Regions from separate parts of the Homo sapiens genome. Here region 2 is linked to region 1. The links are contacts of gene promoters, found by promoter capture Hi-C in human tissues and cell types (Jung and others, 2019). All regions are on one chromosome and are shown on one strand. Each heading gives the region's core, a stretch centred on a gene start or on the middle of the fragment in contact. The rest is flanking DNA. Distances are from core to core; before and after follow the strand shown. Region 1 holds the start of GPC1 (glypican 1). Region 2 has its middle 130 kb from the start of OTOS.

Region 1 (5,418 bases), core at 1,889-4,388:
TGGGGACCCTACATCCTCCACTATGCCCCAGGGCACCAAAACACCTCCTGGGTGCTCTAACAGATCAGATGCCACATCCCAGCCAGCCCTAGTCCACGCCCTTGAACCCCTGCTGTCTGCAGGCACACGCGCGCACTCCTGCCTCCCACGGCCAGTAGGACAGGGCTCTCGTAGGTAGGGATGCTACAGGCAGTGACATTCACAAGAAGGCAGCCATGGATGGCAGCGACAACAATCGCTCAGTCTGTTTGGAAACTTACTTTTGGAGTCTCCGAAAGACAATCCCTGAAACCAAACAGAAAGGGAAGCTGTCCGTCCATGGCAGCGGGCAAGGGCGTGCACACTCACGAGGGTTCCACGGAGCAAAAGTAGGATAATTTCTGGGCAGACCTGCCGTCCGAACGGCTGGGAGCTGCGGGCCCCCCGGCGCTCCCTGTGTCTTCTGAGCAGAGACCAGGCTCAGCATCCCGCAGACCCCCACCCTCCCTAGGCAGAGGCAGGAGTGGGCCCTAAGCCAGCAGTACACGCCCTCCAGGACCTGGGGTCCTCCACAGAAGATGGGGGCATGGAAGGGAGGCCCCCACGCCCTGGCCCAACAGGCACTGCCTGCCTCAGCCCGTCAGACAATGCTAAGTGTCCTCTGCCCTCACTGCACCTGTGGAAGAGCAGGTCCAGGCTGCGCCACACGCCCACTCTCAGGGACAAACTTTTCCTCTCAGGTGTTTCCTCACTTGCTCATTCATTCCTTCTTTGTGTCGCATACGTGTGCCCCCACTGTCTAGCCAGGCAAAGACACCAAAGCAGGAGGGGGTGGTCTTGGTCAGAGCCACAAGGGTCACTGTGGTGGCTGGGATTCGAGGCATCAACTATGTCCTCAAACCCATCCACGTGTCCTGTGTGGAGCGGCCCCAGGGACAGCGGTGGAAGAGGGGGCTGATCAGCCTTGCCCATCCTCCCAGAGTCCCAGTCTGGACCCTGCACCCGACTAGCACGGGCAGCCTGGCGGCTCCTGCCCTGGTGACAGCGGGCGTGTGCAGCATTGCCAGGAGGGAAGCAGGGGTAGCTGCAGCTGCTCAGGATCCTGCGGCTCCTCCCAGGTGCAAACACGGCTTTTGCTTCCAATGCCCCCGGCGGCATGTGCATCCTCTCCAGGGAAGGCCCTGGCTACAGGTCTCCTGGCCTGCGGAATGGGAATGATTCCAGGACCTGCGATGGTGGTAAGGACTTCCTTAGGAGATGAAGCCACCCAGGGGTCACCAGGGCCAGGCAGAGGCTGCCACCATCGCGTTCTAAGCCCTGCTGTCCACACTGCCATCCAGAGGCCCAGAACTAGGCTGGAGGAAGGACTTGCCTGGAGGAATAACCCAACCTGGTCAGATTAAGAGGAGGCGTAGACAGTGACGGGGTAACTATAGAGCCTCAGGCCGGGTTAACCTCAAGTCCAGCTTCCTAGGCCCAGGCAGCCCTGCCTGATCCCGCAGTGCGTGAGACCACACAGAGAGAGAGCGGGATCGTGGGCCCAGGCTCCTGACCGTGCTGGATAAGGTGTGCAGGCAGCCACGCCAGGCCCAGGCAAGAAGGAGCAAGCCTGGAGCATGTACTGAACAGGGGTCTGTGAGTCACAAAATGTGACGCAGCAGAGGGTATGTGGGGGAGGGCAGGGAAATGCACACTTGGATTGGGTCCCCAAAGCCTCCCTCTCCAGCAATGACTCAGTGTCTCTGGGTGAAGGAGCAACCTTCTCTGGGAGGCAGGGCAGGAAACCCCAAGAGCCCAGGGGGAGGGCACCCCACCTTCCTGCTCCAGCCCCACACAGCGGCTGAGAGCCCCAGGCACAGAAGGGGTAGGGAATGTTGCCACCACCCCCACCACGGACCCCGCTGCAGCTTCCAGGTGATGCCACAGGCCCTGAAATCAGGACACCCTTGCTGTACATGGGGGTCATCTTGAGGTTCTCTGCCAAGGATACTGACCTCTATGCCTGCCCCCAATTCTGCAGCTCAGGCACCTGGCTTCACCGCCAGGCCTTACCATGTGGAGAACAGGGGGCCGGGGTGGGGGGTCTGGGAGCCAAGGAAGGAGTGAAGCCCTCCAGACACCAACATCGCAGTCCTCGCCCCCTCCCTACAGACCCCATCCAGCCCAACTCCCCATGTGCAGCTAAAGCCACGCGCCCTCCTACCATACAAGGTGCAGGCAGCCCTCCCGCCTTCTTCAAAGAGGCATCTGCTCCGGCTCACTCCACCCTCCTCCCCCAGTGGCCTAACTAGTCGCCGGGTTCCAACCCTATCCCTTCTCCAGAGGTCATCTGGCCCCACCCAGCAGCCCAAACCAGTAGACCGGCCCTGCCCCATCACTTTGGTTTCTCCAGCATCCAAAGAACGTGGAGGGTCACCCCCCCAAAACAGCTGTCAAGGTCCAACAATTAAGCCATCTGTTGCCGCTCCCTGGGACTGGGAGAGGTGAGGTCGAGTTTCTTGGCGAGTTTCCTGCGTGCAGCCCCCACACCACAAAAGCCCCCGGTGCGAGCCGGAGCCCAGCGCGAGACGGCTGGAAGGGCGCGGGGAGGGAGCCGCTGCGGGGTGCAGGCGGGGAGAGGGGCGGCGGCTCGAGGCGCGGCCGGCGGGCGGAGGGTACGGAGGCGCCGGGAGAGCGTTCTCGGGGCGCGCTGCCAGGGTGCAGGAAGCCGGAGCGCGCGGGAGGGAGCGGGGAGCGGGATGCCGATTTCGGCTGGGGGCGGGGAGGCCCCTGATTGGGGCGCGGGAGGCGTGATGTCACGTCCGGCGGGGGAAGCCCTGCCTCGCGCACCCTCCGCCCCCGTCCCCGCCCCCACAGGTGGTGCCACCGCCCTGGGCGCTGGGCGTGGGGGGCCGCCCTCGGGGACCCCGGCCGCGGCCCCGCGCTGCCCGGCTCCGCCGCCTCCCGCCGGGGATCGATAGAGTCGCGCGGCCAGGCGGGCCCTCTGGGTCCCTAAGAGCCAGAGGAGCGCCCAGTGCGCCCCGGCCCGCGCCCCCGCGCCGCGCCCCGCCCCGCCCCGCCCGGTGCTCCCAGTCCCTCCCCCACCCCTGCGCTCCCACCCTGCCCCGCCCCTCTCCTCTCCCGCGGCCGCCTAGGGGCCGGGCCGGCGGCGGGGGAGGCGCCGAGCCGGGACTGCGCTAGCCCGCCGCGCTCTGGGCTGCCCGAGCGAGCGTTCGGACCTCGCACCCCGCGCGCCCCGCGCCGCCGCCGCCGCCGGCTTTTGTTGTCTCCGCCTCCTCGGCCGCCGCCGCCTCTGGACCGCGAGCCGCGCGCGCCGGGACCTTGGCTCTGCCCTTCGCGGGCGGGAACTGCGCAGGACCCGGCCAGGATCCGAGAGAGGCGCGGGCGGGTGGCCGGGGGCGCCGCCGGCCCCGCCATGGAGCTCCGGGCCCGAGGCTGGTGGCTGCTATGTGCGGCCGCAGCGCTGGTCGCCTGCGCCCGCGGGGACCCGGCCAGCAAGAGCCGGAGCTGCGGCGAGGTCCGCCAGATCTACGGAGCCAAGGGCTTCAGCCTGAGCGACGTGCCCCAGGCGGAGATCTCGGGTGAGTGAGGGCGCGGCGCCGGGAACCCGGGCCTGGCCGGGCTTTGGGCTCCGGACCCTGGTCTTCCCGACGCGGCTACTCGCCCCCGGCGCGGGATCCTGCCGCCTGCGCCCCGCCGCCCGGGCCCCGAATGGCTCCCTGCGCTGCGGCTCCTCTGCAACCCCACGGCCCTCGCCTCCAAGCCCCGCGCCGCACTCCCTCGCCAGGGTCTCCTCCGCCCCGCTCGGTCGTCCTCCGCCCCTCCCCGCCCCCCGCACGCCGGCTTCTTCCCTGCGGAGCTGATCTCGCCGGGCTGCGGGCTCGGGGCGCTCCTCCCGGGCCACGGCTGGAGCTGGGCGTCTTCTGCCCGCCGCTCGGCCCAGCGCGCCTGCAGGCCGGGAGTCCCAGCCCCGGGGCCGGCTGTCGGGGCGCTGTGGGGCTCGGCGTGGCCGGGCTTTCGGGGCGCCGCTGACGGTGGCCGCGGACCCCTTCTGCTCTGTACAGACCTCTCTGGGAGGCGTCTCCGGTCCTGCCCGGGGATTCTCGTAGGGTCTCCAGCAAAGGCAGCCTAGGTGGGTTTTATAAGCTGACCCCCTCGGGGGGTAGTGCGGAGGGGTGGGGAGGGAGCTGGGCACTTATCCGCGGGCGGAACGCCGCCGCCTCGTAGAGATTCCTGTCGAAGAACTTGTACGCGCCGGCCCCCGCCTGGCGCTTGGGCAGCCTCGTGCCGCGAGTCCAGCTGCAGGTGGTCGGCGCGTTGGATCCCGCCCAGGGGCCGTGTCATTTCTTTGTAAGAACAGCGGCCCTCTTGGCGCCCCCTAAGCCCTGCAGCCGCCTGCGGCTCTGCCTCTTCCCTCCCTGTGGTCCCGGAGGAGCTTTGGGGACAGAAGTGTACGGGTGGGTGGAACGGTGGGCTCCGTGTGCTAAGGAACTCTTGGAACCCAAGCTTCACCTTTCCACGTGTGGGAACCAACCTCGGTCTGTACCGCGTGCCAGGGACCCAGTGGGCAAGAACAAAACAGACTAGGTTCCTGCTCTGGGGGGCTCCTCTGAAACCAGGGGAGTGGGAGTGCGGGTGGAGGGCTACTCAGATGGGGACTCAGCGCAGAAATGCCCATGGTCCTGGGGATTCTGAGCAAGAAGGATCCGTGCATCTGGGTGAGGGGGGTCTGTGGCCATGCCTTGCCGCGGGGGGCGGAGTGGTGGGAGGAGGCAGTCGGGCTCTGGACCCCTGCCCCTCCAGGAGGAACAGAACCCACAGACAGCCCCTTGCCCTTGGTGGATCTCCCGATGCCCCCAGCCTGAGGTTCTTGTAAGGGCCCCCTGACCGCCCCCCACAGAAGGAACAGAACCCGCAGACAGTCCCTTGGCGGATCTCCCGATGCCCTCCCCACCAGCCTGAGGTTCTTGCAAGGACCCCTCCAAAGTCCCCAGGACAGGCCTTCCTGTGCCTCTGCAGAGGCAACCCTGTCATTTCCAGGCTGCCCCCCTCACCCCACTGGGCTCTGTCTGTCCCAGGTAGGGGGCACACCTGGATGCCAGGCAGCACAAGGCCCTCGGCACAGTTGGGTTCGTTCTCTGCCCCTCTACTCACACATAAAGAGGCATCCCTGGCCTTCCTGGTGAATCCCTCCCCAGGCACCAGGGTAGCAGAGTGGCTGAGTGGCTGCCCCTCCCAGCCCAGAGTCTTGAACCCTGCTCCTTTGGAAACCATTAGCCCCCAGCCCTTCTTAGCACCTCCATGTCCTCTGGGCAGTTGCATCCTTAGGAGCCAACCTAACCTTCCTTGCATCCACAGGCCACTGTTGCCAGTTAGAGAGACAGAGTGGCAGAGTTTGGCCATCTCCCAAGGGTGAGAAGAGAGGGCAGGACAAGATGG
Region 2 (5,418 bases), core at 2,130-4,629, 160 kb before region 1:
TTAAATATTCCTGGATTCAATTTCCTAAATTTATTCAAGGATTTTTACATCTGTGATCAGGAAGGATATTGGTTTGTAATGTCTTTGTCTGGTTTTATATTAGGGTCATCCTGACCTCATAAAATAAGTTTAAATGTTTTCCTTCTTCTCTTCTGTTTTCTGAAAGTGTTTCTGTAAGATTAGTATTTTTTTTCTTTAATGTTTGAGAAAATTTTACAGTGAAATTGGGCCTGAAGTTTACTTTGTGGGAAGGTTTTTGATACATTTAATTTCTTTAATATATAGGGCTATTTAGATATTTTGTGACTTCTAGGGTCAGCATTGGTAACTTGAGTCTTCCAAGGAATTGTCCATGTCACTTACTTTGATGAAGAGAGAATTTGGGGTTGACAGTTTTTCTTTTAATACTTTAAAGATGTAGTTCCATTGCCTTCTGGCCTCCATTATTTCTGATGAAAAGTCATCCATCATTTGTGTTACTTTCCCCAGCGATATTATGAGCCCTTTTCCTCAGGCTGTATACGAGATTTTCTCTTTCTCTTTAGCTCTAAACAGTTTGTGGTGTGCCTCGCAGTGGTTTGCTTTGAATTTATTCGACTTAGGGTTCATTGGCCTTAATCTGTACATTTGTGCTTTCACCAAATTTAGGAGAATTTCTACCTTTTTTCTAATATTTTGTCTACTCTACTTGCTGTCTCCATTCCTTTTGTGACTCCAGTTACAAGTGTATTAGGTTGTTTGGTAATGTTTCATAGGTCATGAGGAACTGTTCTTTGTACATTTTTCCTCTCTCTTTCTTCAAATTTGGTCATTTAAAAAATCTGTTTTCAAGTTTACTAATGTTTTCTTCTGCCAGCTTCAATCTTTTGCTAAGCCTATCCAGTGACTTTTTCATTTTAGCTATCTTACACTTAAGTGTTAAAGTATCTGTTTGGTTCCTTACATATTTTCCCATTTTATGTTGAGAATTCTTTCATCCATTCACTCATTACAGTCTGCCTTTCTCATAATTCCTTGAACATTTCTGTAACAATATTTTAAATTATTTGTCTGCTAATTCCAAAATATAGGTCAAATCACAGTATATTTACATTGATTGCTTTTCTTTTTTCTATGGCTCACATTTTTCAGTTTCTTCACATATCTACTCATTTTTTATTGTTTATTGGCTATTGTTCAGACTTTGGATTCTATTATCTTTCTGTGAAAATTGTTGATTTTTTTCTAATAAGCAATTAATTTATCAGATAATCATCTTGTATTTGTGGAGATTTATTTAAACTTTTTTTGGGGGGTAACTCTATTTAGACTTTTCCTTTAGCTAAAAAAAGTCTTAATTCTGGAACATAGGCTTTACTCCTAAGTTATAATCTTTTGGGGATTTCAATGGAAGCCTAAGGTTTTTTACCAAGCTCCTGTAACTTGGCAGGATTTAAATTGCAAATCTGGCTCTTCTGTTGTGAGCAGCAGCTGAAATATCAATTCAGCTTTTCCAGCTTCAATTTCCCTTCAACCTCCTTAAGATCTCCCTTATATGCATCACCAAGGATTTGAAGGGAGTTTATTCACAGATTTGTGGCTCTCCCTTCTGTGACTCCCTCTCCTATTGGATTTCCTTCCTCAATTTCCAACTACTTTGGGAACCCAAATGCTATGTTATGATACTTCCAAACAACTTTACTACACTTTTTGCTTGAGTTCTGTCTTCCCTACATCATGGAGACTGTCGGCTGCCCTCAAACATTGAGTCTTCTTCAGCTTCTATTATAGGTTGTACTTCAATGCTTTAAAATATATTACAGTGTCTGTCTTTTTGTTTGTTCAAAGTTTTTAATTGCTTTCTTAAGTAAAACTAGTCCGGTAAAGCTATTTTAGCCATTATCAGCCTTCATAACTTCTTTCTTAAGTTTGTTGAATGGTATGTTCTGACTGGACCAGACAATGTATGGACTTATCAGGCAAGAGTCATTTTAAGAGAGCCATTTATTGTTGAAGTCCCTGGTCTTCTACCCCTTTGTCTTTTCCTACTTCCCATTCCAACTCTCATTAATCAGAGGTCATCTATGAGCCTGGCATTTTGTGTACAGCTTCATTGGACATTCAAAGGGCACTGTACAAGAATCTTACCACAACCTCTAATTTATGGGGCTTGGAACCACGATGAGAAATAATGTTAACCTTGTCTACAATTGGATTCTGAGCCATGCAGATGTTTCAAAGGGCTCAAGGGCTACATAGGAGCCAGATCACAGCAATGGATAAGGAAGTTTTTGACAGCCATAAGGGGAGGTAGTGGGATTAATGCAAAAGAGCCACAATTCTGGCCATATAAAGAAGCTGGGCTTGACTAATGAACCACCCCCACCTCCAATCCATGTCTCAGCTTGTGCCCATAGTCTCTGAGCAGAAGAGGGTCATTTGGGAAAATGGATAGAGAACATATCATGAGAGGGAGGAGCTCAAGTTGCAACACTGCTTCTTCCTCTACTTCCCAGAGAACTGGGGAGGAGAATAGAAAAACTAGTCTCATGGGGGCAAAGATCCCCACCAAGGGTCACAGGCAGGAAGAGGGAAAGGTGTCCTGGGTATGAGAGAGCCCCTCACACTGGGGCCCAGTGTTCCATGAGACAAGACATCAGTGGCACAGCAAAGTGAGCCACCAACCACAGGTCCCTGAGATTAGGGCCGGCCAAGGTACAGGAGGGATAACCTTGAGGTATTCTTCACATTTCAAAGATCAAGAAGAAGTCCTACAGGCATTCAGGTTGGGGGAGAAACCTCAATGGTTAAGAGCAGAGGGAGGGAATGTCACTATCATAGTCCTCATTCAGGGCACCAAATGCAACTGGACAACAGGACAGCAACTCAGACTTTCGAGGAGCCAAAATTCATCACCCAAGATTTCTGTATTCTCTCAGGCCAGTGTTTACATTGTGAGGATGATAGAGAGATACGTTCATAGATATAGGACTCAAAAGGTTAGATGAGCAAGAACTGGATGAAAATAAAGATTACAAGGAAGGCATGGTCCAAAGACATGACAGTAGGAATCCAACCCAGCAGGGCATATATTAATGTCCAGATGATTAATATGCTTATAGAGTGTAAAGGCAAAAATAGTTATTGCAAGAATACATAACAAATAAAATGTGTCATAAATCAAGCACAAGATGCCCGTGTTAGTCAAACAAAACCTGAGTGTTGGAAGCAAGGAAAGGAGAAAATCGAGCATGCTAAAGTTTCTCATTTTATATGGGGTGAAAGACAGTTGTTGGTATATTATTAATGCTGGTGGAGAAATAGAGGTATAAATATGGGGATTAAGTAAGGTGGACTTGGTAGAATAAAAGCGTTTTGCTTTTAAATTACAAAAAAAAAAGAGTCAGCAAGAAAATAACCTTAGCAATATAATGAATAATAATAGCAAAGCATGGAAGCGTGAAACAACAGGAAGCATAACAGACGACTTAAAATAAGACCAAATAAAACCTGATTACAGTAAGACCGAGAGAGAGAACATCCAACTATCAAATGAGTCAGAAGATAAAATCTAACTCTCTTTCTCATTCACAAGCTGTGGAAAATCAAACACAGCAGCACTGTGGAGCTCAGGCAGCCCCCCAGAGCAGCCCGCGTGGGTTCCAAGGAGTGTTCTGCTGTGCACCATGTGAAGCCCAGAACCAGGGAGATGCACAGTAAAGAAAGAACAGAGATGCAAGTGAGGACATCAGAAAAAAGTACAATACCACTGGAAACGTGTAGAAGGATGTCAAAAGGTTGTCTGCGTATTAAAAATTACAATTCCACACAAAGCCAACATTTGCTATGTGCCTTGCATGGTTCTATACAATTTACAATCATCGATTTGTGATTCACTCCTGCAGACAACTCTCACAATTGCTCTTTCTGTGTCAGAGATGAGGAAGCTGTGTTTTTGGAGCCCCTATCTCCTGCTTAAAATAGCTCTGAATCCCTCCTCCTCTCCACTGTCTCCAACCAGGGCATCCCCAGGAGCACTTTAAGTCAGACATCACAGACTTTGAGAGCTCAGAAGCAATGAACACACAGGGGACTGTGAACACCCAGCCAGCCTTGAGAGATGAAGAGCAGAAGAGGTTTGAACACGATGATATGATTAATACACTTGGCTCTGTGGCTCAGACTTTGTTCCCCAAAGACACATCAGGTGGATATTTTTTCAAACACCCGTGAGTCATTTAAGAATATCTACCTAAGAGAGATGGCTTGGGGCATCAAACCAGATCCTGGACCAAAAAGAACATCTTGGAAAATTATTTTTTTTAAATGTTGAAATCATACAGGCCACATTCTCTGACCACATTGCAATAAGTTAGATATCTATCACAAAAGAGGGAAAACAGAAAAATACCAAACCACTTGGAAGCTTTCCAAAATCTTTCTTAACTCTTTGCTTAATGAAAAAATAAAAAATCGTAACTCATGTGATTTGGCTGTATGTCCCCACTCAAATCTCATCTCAAATTATAATCCCCACGTGTTGAGGGAGGAAACTGTAATCCCCATGTGCCAAGGGAGGGAAGTGATTGGATCACGGAGGCAGTTTCCCCCATGCTGTTCTGGTAATAGTGAGTAAGTTCTCACAAAATCTGATGGTTTTATAAGGGTTTGGAAGTTTCTCCTTCATTCTTCTCTCTCCTGCAGCCTTGTGAAGAAGGTGTTTGCTTCCCCTTTGCCTTCTGTCATGATTGTAAGTTTCTTGAGGCCTCCCCAGCCATGTGGAACTGTGAGTCCATTAAATTTCTTTCCTTTACAAATTATCCAGTCTTGTGTATTTCTTTATAGCAGTGTGAGAATGGACTAATACAGTAAAAAATTCCGGTAAAGTCCTGGTAGCCACAATACCACATATCAAAACACATGAGATGAGGCTAATGTTGTAATTAGAAGAAAATTTATATTTCTCAGTGCTCTAATCATTAGAAAGAGAGAAGTGAAATTCACTATTATGCATAAGAGGAGCCACAAAATAAATGATGGGAAAGCAGGAGATTGTGTGTCAATCTACCCAGCTTTTCCATTTCTGCTGCTAATGTCTGCTGTATCATAACTAATTACAAAGTCAAGAGCAGGTGCCTTAAAAACAAACACAGTAAGAAGTAAAAACTAAAAGAAGATCAAGCATTCATTACCAGCCTGGGCAACAGAGTGAGACCCTGCTTCAAACATAAAAATAAAAAGAAGGAAGGAAGGGAGGGAGGAAAGAAGGAAGGAAGGAGAGAGAGACAGAGAGAGAGAAAGACAGACAGAGACTTTGGCAAAACTGGAAAAGAATAAAGATAGGAAGCATAACTATGTACTGTTAAGAAGGCTGACAGGTTTAACCAGAAATGCACAAGAAATTTGTTTTTAAATTATAAGAGATAAGGAGGCAGAACA

What was found. The method cuts DNA at HindIII sites, captures the fragments that hold promoters and counts their contacts. A contact is called where the count stands out against the background at its distance.
Region 2: a contact is called between a fragment that was not itself captured here and the fragment with the promoter of GPC1 in region 1, in 1 of the 25 tissues and cell types used here (dorsolateral prefrontal cortex).

What each region holds. Positions count from the first base shown.
Region 1 is chr2:240,432,525-240,437,942 of GRCh38, forward strand. GPC1 (glypican 1) reads left to right here and starts at 3,139. Exons shown (of 9, transcript NM_002081.3): 1 at 3,139-3,560. The coding sequence starts at 3,395. RefSeq lists enhancers at 1,508-1,802, 2,202-2,778, 4,512-5,088, 5,140-5,418 and silencers at 2,608-3,267, 3,328-3,387. The HindIII fragment of the contact is 16,928 bases long and covers 1-5,418 here.
Region 2 is chr2:240,271,425-240,276,842 of GRCh38, forward strand. No RefSeq gene overlaps it. Among named protein-coding and RNA genes, the nearest start is that of OTOS, 130 kb to the left of the region's middle. The HindIII fragment of the contact is 5,374 bases long and covers 693-5,418 here.